2 separate regions of the Homo sapiens genome follow, and region 2 is linked to region 1. The links are contacts of gene promoters, found by promoter capture Hi-C in human tissues and cell types (Jung and others, 2019). All regions are on one chromosome and are shown on one strand. The core of a region is centred on a gene start or on the middle of the fragment in contact, and the rest is flanking DNA. Distances in the headings are between cores, read along the strand shown.

The links. The method cuts DNA at HindIII sites, captures the fragments that hold promoters and counts their contacts. A contact is called where the count stands out against the background at its distance.
Region 2: a fragment that was not itself captured here is called in contact with the fragment with the promoter of TSPAN11 in region 1 in 1 of the 25 tissues and cell types used here (dorsolateral prefrontal cortex).

What each region holds. Positions count from the first base shown.
Region 1 is chr12:30,923,616-30,928,116 of GRCh38, forward strand. TSPAN11 (tetraspanin 11) reads left to right here and starts at 3,133. Exons shown (of 8, transcript NM_001370302.1): 1 at 3,133-3,181. LOC124902911 (a long non-coding RNA gene) reads right to left here and starts at 3,074. Exons shown (of 2, transcript XR_007063264.1): 1 at 142-3,074. The HindIII fragment of the contact is 5,500 bases long and covers 345-4,501 here.
Region 2 is chr12:29,902,942-29,907,254 of GRCh38, forward strand. All of the region lies in intron 4 of LOC105369715 (a long non-coding RNA gene), which reads right to left. Among named protein-coding and RNA genes, the nearest start is that of TMTC1, 120 kb to the left of the region's middle. The HindIII fragment of the contact is 4,307 bases long and covers 420-4,313 here.

The DNA.
Region 1 (4,501 bases), core at 1,883-4,382:
GAGTTGTCCTGTTCATTCTCACAGCACCGTCCATTCAATCTCTGGAGTACCCAACCTGGCAGAGAAACCTCCCTCCTCATACAACCACAGAATAAGAATCAAAATGGAATATTTCCAACTCCTATCTCATCTTCCTCATACCTTTTCTAGTCCAAGCTGAATTCCCATCTCCATTTTCATAGATGGTGGATTCTCATTCTTCCCCCTCACCTTCTTCAAGTATGTTTTGTGAAATAACATGGAATAGGTTAGGATCTTGTTAATGGTGCAGTGCTGGTAGAAGAGGCCAATTCCTTCATAAAAGGTAAGGACAAAAGAAAGCCAAAATCAAAAAGTCTAGGAATTAGAATTCTAGGCCTATGTGGTCTGATATGGTAGCCACTAGCCACATGTGGCTACTGAGCACTTGAGATGTGCCACATGCAACTGAAGGGCTGGATTATTTCATTTAATTTTAATTAATATAAACAAATTTAAAAACTGATCATTTGATTTTATTGTTGGAAAGCTAAGTATGTATATAACAACGTAGGCTTGTAAATCTATTTCCTCAACCAAAACGTTATGAAATCTAAATACACACTGAATATTTCCAATGAAAATGTAGTGTTTGCATGTAGATGTGCAATACACATAAAATATAACCAGAGTTGGAAGACTTAGTAGGAAAAAATGTAAAATATCTTATCGTTGATTTTTCATATTGACACACGCTGAAATGATATTTTAGATATACTGTGTTAAATAAAATATATCATTACAATTACTTTCACCTGTTTCTTTATATTGATTTTTTTTTTTAAACGTGGCTCACGGAAAATTTTTAATTACATATTATATTTCCATTGGTTCTCCACTGTAAACGTTTAATGTTACTGGGGATACTGCTGGAGAGGGACTACCCTAGCCCAGAGCTTCATTCATCACTCACCCTCTCCTACTGCTAGAAAGTCACTCCAGGCCGTTTTCCAACCCTCTCTTTCCTCATTGCTGTTTTAATGTTATTAACTTTGGTGAATACTGACCTCCCCTCACCCTTACCCTCTTCCAGCATTCTCCCCTCCTCGGGCCTACTCCACTCTTCTCTCTTCCATCCGGCTTTTGAAAATCCATCTTCTACTACGAATAAGCTTCCTCTTCGCTCCCCATTCCCCAGGCTCTTTCCTTCACACCACCTTCTCTGAGTCTTTCTAACCATCCCTGTCTGTTTAAACTGCTCCGTTAGAGGCCAAGTTTTGTTTCCTGCGCCCTTTCTCAGTGTCCCTGTACCTCCGGTTGGATTTCTAGGAAACAGACTCTGCACAGAGATGGAGATGGTATGTGGGAGGTCTCCTGGGACGTGCTCTTGGGAACAACACCTTGAGAGAGTGAGGGAAACAGGATTCGGCAGAGAATGAACTTTAACTGTGCTGCTTTCCACAGAGGCCTCGGCGGATCCCTTGGGAAGCTATGGAGCTGGGGTGGCCCTTCAGGGCCCTCCGTAATGGAAGCAAAGAGGTGAACCTTTGTATCTCCCCATCAACCAATTGGATCCGAGATACAGATGCCCCGCCCCAAGGAGTGGCAACCTGGTTTATATAAGCCACCACTCAAATAGTTATCTTGAACTAGCCCAGAGATCTCCTTCTTTCTAAATCTAAACCTATTTTCTTGGGCGCCCTCCTCCGTGGTGTCCCTGCAGCCCGGGCCCCGGCCCCCATTGAACCTCCCTCTTCTCCTGAGTCCTGACACCCCGCACAGTCCTGACCTTCCCTTATGGTTTCTCCTGATAGTTTCCGTTCCTTTCATGGGCTCCTTCTCGGTAGACCTAGATTCTGTCTTCAGCCCTGTTCTCTGTACCTTTTCTACCCTCTCCCTCCACCTCTTGTGTCGGCCCAACTTCTTTCCAGATGATTCCAAAATTGACATCCCTTGCCTCAGTCTCTCCTATGAACTCCAGAATCACCCTTCCAATTGCATTTGCTGGATATCTGCCCCTGGAAGAAGGTGGCCTGCTTCTCCAATCCAACTTGCTCCACACTAAACTCAGTCACATCACTCCAGGTTCTCCTCCAGACTTCCACAATGTTACAGCCCCAGTGTGCTCCTCCTACACCACACAGTCTGTAGACTCTCCTTTGCTGCAGCTTCCGCATTCATCCCCCAGTTAAGGTCCTCATCTCACGGGACTATTGGAATCATCTCCTTCCTGTGTGGCCCCCCGCGAAGCCCTTCTCAGCAGCCAGCTGGGGTATTTAGAACGTTGGTGCTCCCGGTACAGTGGCTTTGTCAGCGTCCCCTGCCTCCAGTGGCTTCCCTGATCTAGCAACCTGGTAAATGGGTAATCTTCCTCACTGCAGCTAAGTTTCAAAAGAACACGGTTGGATAAGCACAAGGCCCTTGTTACTTTGGGAAATAGATAATCCATGCCCCACTGTTAGGGCCAGTCCCGTTAGGGCCAGCTTTGCACCTTCACAGGGACTCAGCAGGAACAGATGGGCTCTACTCTCTGTTATTCCTTTTTGCTTCAGATTAGAGAGACCTTGATTCTCCCCGGGGCCCAGGAAATGTAAAGCTGATGCTCCACAGGACTCTAAGAGGGACACGGCAGTGATGGGGGCTGGTGAGGAAGGGGGATGGAGAACCTCTCTCTTATCAGACAGGCTTGTCCCTAGGGTCCCTGGAAACCCCCAAAGGCCAACCTCTCCCAGGGGCCGACAAACGTAAAGGGCAGGGAGACCTAAGCGGGGAGCTGCGGAGCGCGGGGAGTTTGAAAGCCGCTCCACCGCCCTACTAGTCCGTCCTTTTGCCCCGCCCCCCTTAGGGATCCCCCCGGCAACCGCACAGCTGCCTCGGACTCTGACTTAATTCCCTCCGCGTGCTCTGAATCGCAGAGAGGCAAACCCCCAAACAAAGAGCCGGCAGCTCGCGTGCGGGGCTCCCGGGCGCGTCCTGCCGGCTGGGCTGGGAGAGCCGGCGCCGGGGCGTCGCGGCCGAGCGCTGGGCAGGCGGGGACTAGAGGGCCGGCAGGAAGCCTCAGTGGGCGCAGGGGCGCGGGCCGGGCTGCCCACACGCTGACCTTCCCGGGCTGGGAGGGAGGAGCGCTGGCTGCGGGCGGTGGGCGGCTGGGCGGCCCCGGGAGCCGCCGCTCTCAGTCTCTCTAGGCGCAGCTCCCTTCGCCGCTTCCGGAGCCCCTGGCAGGGTAAGTGCAGAAGCGCGCCCGAGGAGTGGGGGCGCCGCGGGAGGGGGCTGGGGGTCCAGGAGAGGCGCCTCCACCTCCGCTGCCCGCCCCGCCGGCAGTCCCGAGCTAGACTGTCCCGAGCTTCCCCCGGGCGGGCAGAGGGAAGCCGGCTGGGGATGAGGAGTGGAGGAGGCAGGAATGCCTGGGACACTCGCGGGGCATGTGAGCAGGTATTGGTGTCTGCATGGGACACGCAACACGGTGTCCATAACTATGCGCATGAGTCTGCCTTTCTGCACTTGTGCCTTGGGAGAGAGCTCTGGGCCTCTGAGGGCCTCGTGCCGTCCAGCGTGCCCGGGGCATGTCTGTTCCTCTTGAAAATGTCATTCTTTGTCCACCCTGAATTCGAGTAGCTGCCTCTCATGGCTACACCAAAATGCTGTATCTGGTGCACATTGCTTTCAGAGGGCCTGTCTGCCTGTGCAGGGATGTCCTCATGTTCTGGGCACGTCTGTGTATTTGTGACAACATGGCTGTGTAGGCCCTGTCACCTGTGTTTTCGTGCCCATCCCTGCATGTGCAGTTGGCCGGCTCCGTGTGGAAAGAAGGCATGGAAGGTTCTGGGGTGTATCCTTTTCACCAGCCATATGTGCAGTGTGCACATGTGTGAATTGGTGGAAAGTATGAAAGGGAGGCAGCCCAGTTGGGCTTGGCGGGACAGCATCTTAACTTGAGTCTAAGCTGCTGTGTGCAGGAGGAATAAGTGTTCCAGAGGTCTCCAGTTCGTGGCAAGTATTGTGAGGTGAGCGTGGGGGTGGGGGGTGAGGAGAAGAGGCAGCTTCTGGAAAAACTCATAAGTGCACTCTGGGGCATAGGGTGTGTGTGGGGGAGCGTGAAGAAGAGAATGAGGGTGGTATTAGGCCAAAGTGGATAGTCTGTGTTCAATTTGTGGGCAGCTGGATTGCAGTGGAAAGCAGCAGTTAGAGGCTGGAGACAGGTTTGAATCAGAACTTAATGGTTGTCACTGTGTCAGTAGCATTGTTCCCTGGACAGATAGGTCATCTGGGGCTCAGTTGCTTTTTGTGCAAAATGGGACTAATAACCACTGGCCCCATCTGTCTCCCAAGGGACTGGAGGCTCCAATTAATGCCTGGAAATGCTTTGATGATAGTTAAGACTCCTAGGGTAAGGGGCACTACTGGCCTACAGGGGCCAAGTTGGTGGTCTGGCGAGGGCTTAGGTGGCCCAGAGCTGTTTGGTTTGTGGGTAGCAGAGGGAGGCATTTGTGTGCTGTTTCCCACTATATTCAGCATAGCAGGAATTTTATACCCACCTTTGGAC
Region 2 (4,313 bases), core at 1,323-3,822, 1.0 Mb before region 1:
TGCTTGCAAATATAACACATCTGGAAATTCCTGTGGCTGGCCTGCCAATGCACACACCTTCTGTAATGCCCTGCTCTGATCCTCACTGAGCAGTGCCACCAGCAGCTGGTGGCAAGGCACATCCTAACTTTGCATAGCTGTCAGGTTTTGAGGGGTGTCTTGGAGGGATGAGGAATAAATAAGAGAATCTAGTGACAATTTTTTTTTTTTTTTTGAGACGGAGTCTCACTCTGTCGCCCAGGCCGGAGTGCAATGGCGCGATCTCGCCTCACTGCAAGCTCCGCCTCCTGGGTTCAGGCCATTCTCCTGCCTCAGTCTTCCAAGTAGCTGGGACTACAGGCGCTTGCCACCACACCTGGCTAATTTTTTGTAGTTTTAGTAGGGACGGGGTTTCACCATGTTAGCCAGGATGATCTAGATCTCCTGACCTCGTGATCCACCCGCCTCGGCCTCCCAAAGTGTTGGGATTACAGGCTTGAGCCACTGTGCCCGGCCTCTAGTGACAATTCTTAGAGGATAATGAATGATGTAATCACATCACAATGAAAATGGCTCAGGCAGTAAGATACAAAAATACAGCACCATTACAAACACGAGGCAGTGACACTCTTTCAGAGACATATTTCTGTGTACTCCTTTCAAAACATCAAGCTGTACACTTTAAATATATACCACAAGTTTTAAAATTAAACAATAATAAAAATATTTTTTTAGAAAAGGAAAAGAATTCTTAGTATAGCATTGTATGTTAATGCCAAATGAGTGATTGAATATATACTATAGGAGTTGAAAACCAAGAGAAATTTGTAGATGCTTAGATGATAAGGGCAAGATTAGGGAACAAGTGAGGCTTAATGGTGCCTTTGAAGGACAAACAGAAATTAAAGACAGAGAACAAAAGGAAGGACATTTCAGAACATGGGAAAATACAAGATTAAATATGGATATGGAATATCTGTATTTCAGGGTAGTAGATTCCAAACTTTGAAATCACCAAGGAAGATTTTAAGTCTTGGGTGAGGGCTGAAAATATGCAGATTAAAAATATACTTCAGGTACTTGCTTATTAACTCTGCAGGATAGCAAAGGAAATTTAAGACATTACAAATCTCTGGTTTGCCTAGTTCATTGACTCCTGGTCCCTCACTGTGTACTTAACTTTCTGCTGTTTCATTAACTATGGGTTCTTCCTAAATCAAGATTTTGGGAAGCACCTGTTATCTCTTATTCCCATTCTCTGATGAAAGTCTTAGACTAACTGTAGCATCACCAATGACTCCTCCACCAGCAACTCTTGAAATCAGTTCCTTTAAGTCAAACTTTCCTCTAAGTCTAATGAACTTTTCTGTTTGGGTGATTCACCCTAAATTCAGAACACCCTAAACCCAGATTTAACATTTTATCTAAAAAATGCTCTGTCTCCCCATTTCCATCACCAGTTCTATCATGCTCCCAATGAGTCTAAAATTTTGGCATCTTTGACAATGTCCTCTCTACCATCATTCATCTTGATTTTTAAAATGTCTTTTTTCTATATGCTTCTTTCCAGCCAATGTCACTCCAACACCAGGACAGGCCAATAGCTTGTCCCAAAATTAATAAAGGAGTCTTCTGATGCTCGGCTCCAGAGTCTATCTCCCTGTAGCTGTTCTGGCATGGAATTGCCTGATTGCATTCCTTGTGACACACTCAAGTCCCTGAGGTCATCACCCTTAAGAGAAAACAAAAAACAAAAACACTCAACAATATTCTTTTGGATGTGGCATAAAGATTACCTTAGTCCAGAAGCCCCAGATAACTTATCCAAGCCAACTGTGTTTTATTCTTTTATAAGAATCCATCTTTGGCTTATTCCCTAATAAGCACCTGAAGTATATTTTTAAAATGCACATTTTCAGGCCTCATCCAAGACCTAAAAGCTTGCTAGGTGATTCCAAAACTTGGAATCTACAACCCTGAAATATGCATATTCCATATCTATATTTAATCTTGTATTTTCCCATGTTTTGAAATATTCTTCCTTTTGTTCTCTCTCTTTAATTTCTGTCTGTCCTTCAAAGACTCCATTAAGCATTGCTTGTTCCCTAATCTTGCCCTAATCATCTAGTCATCTACAAATTTCTCATGACTTTCAACTACTGTAGTATGTATTTGATCACTCATTTGGCACTTTCATACATCACCATACTAAATTTTCTTTTCCTTCTTTAAAAAAATGTTTTTTATTATTGTTTAACTTTAAAACTTGTGGTATATATTTAAGGTGTACAACATGATGTTTTGATATATGCAGCATCCCTGACTTACGATGATTCAGCTTATGATTTTTTGACTTAGGATGATCTGAAAGCAATACATAGCATGTCCCTTGATTTATAATTGGGCTAGGTCTGGATAAACTCATCATACATTGAAAATGTCATAAGTAGAAAATGCACTTTTGACTTATAATATTTTCAATGTATGATGAGTTTGTCTGGGCATAGCCCCCATTCTAAGGTGAGGAGCATCTGTGCTTACGCACAGCGAAATGGTTACTACAGTCAAGCGAATTAACATATCTATCATTTTGCACAGTTACCCCCTCCCTTTTTTGTGGTAGGAGCACCTGAAATCTATTTTCAGCAACTTTTCAATATACAATTCTATAACTACAGTCCTGATGCTGTATCTTAGATTACTACTCTTATTCATCCTACTTATCTGCAACTTTGTACCCTTCAATGTATTGTACATCTTCCCATTGCCTTCCCCTTCTTTTCATAAAGTTCTTCCTCCTCCTCCTTTTTCTCCCTCTTTTTTCCCCCTTCCTCTTTGTCTTTGATAAACAAATATATGATACAATTGAGGATTTCTGTAAAACCACTTGCTTTATTTCTGACATGTATCTTTCCTTGGGTCTTCAGCTACTGCTTTAGTACTGGCATTAGGCTCTCTATTTTTTATCTCCCATAGTATACTGCACAGAGTAGGTGCTCAACAAATATTTGCTGAAATATTTAATAATGAGTGAAATAGGCTTGTGAGATATAATTGACAGTAGAAAAGGAAGCCTCTAACATGAAAGTCACTGACTAAAACAGACAGAAGGATCGTAGAGGAAACAGACAGTTAAGAGAAGGGAAAAAAAGCTTAAAATATCATTTACATCCTCAGTGAAATAGAAATAGACGTTGCATCTATAAAAGAAGAGAAGATAACATACAGAGATCATAAAAGAACCAAGAAAACCTTAGACATTGAAAATATACTAGCAAAAATAAAACACTCAATATAATGACTAGAACATAAATTTGAGGAAAATCTCCCAGAAATGACAACAGCATGAAGATTAAGAGATGGAAAATAGTAGAAAAAATATAGAAAAGTAGAGCTTCTGTTCAGGAGGACTACCATTAGAGTAATAAGAATTCTATAAAGAAAGAATAAGCAGAAGAAAAGTGAAAGAAATCCAGAAAATTCTGGAAAAAAATATGCAATACTGGAGAAGATGGAACTTCTATATGAAAATGCCTACTGAAAATTCATACAATGGATGAAAAAGACTCATATCAGGTTATATTATTAGGAACTTTCAGAACTGTGAGGACAAATAGAAGATTCTAAAAGCTTCCAGAGGGGAGAAATTAAAGATCACATATACACATAAAGGCTCAAGAATAAGCAATCCTAGAAACTAGAAGATAGTGGAGTTCTGAATTCCAGAGGAAAAAAATATTGATTTCCCATATAGAAGTTTTATGTAGCCCATATAGCATTTGAGTGTGAGGGTAGATAAAAAGACATTCTTCAACACCAACGATCTCAGAATACATACCTTTCATTCGTCGTTTTCCACTAAGCCTCTGAAGGATGTACTCCACCAAAATAAGGGAGTAAAGCAAGAAACAAAATACAAAGACTCCAGAACAGAAAGTATCTAACACAAGTAAAATGCAAAGGGAATCTCAAAGATGAGGGCAAAGGCAGCTGAGGCCATTATCCTAAGCGAATTAACACAGAAACAGAAAACCAAATACCACATGTTCTCACTTATAACTGGGAGCTAAACATTGGGTACTAATGGACATAAAGAAGGCAACAGTAGACACTGGAGACTACTAGGGAGGGAGCAGGGAGGGAGAGCAAGGGATGAAAAACTACCTGTTGGGATTATGCTCACTACCTGGGTGGACAGGATCAATAGTACCCCAAAAGTCAGCATCACAGAATATTCTTTTGTAATAAACCTACACATGTACTCCCAATTTTTTGTTGTTGTTGTTGAGACTGAGTCTCGCTCTGTCGCCCAGGCTGGAGTGCAGTGGCGCGAT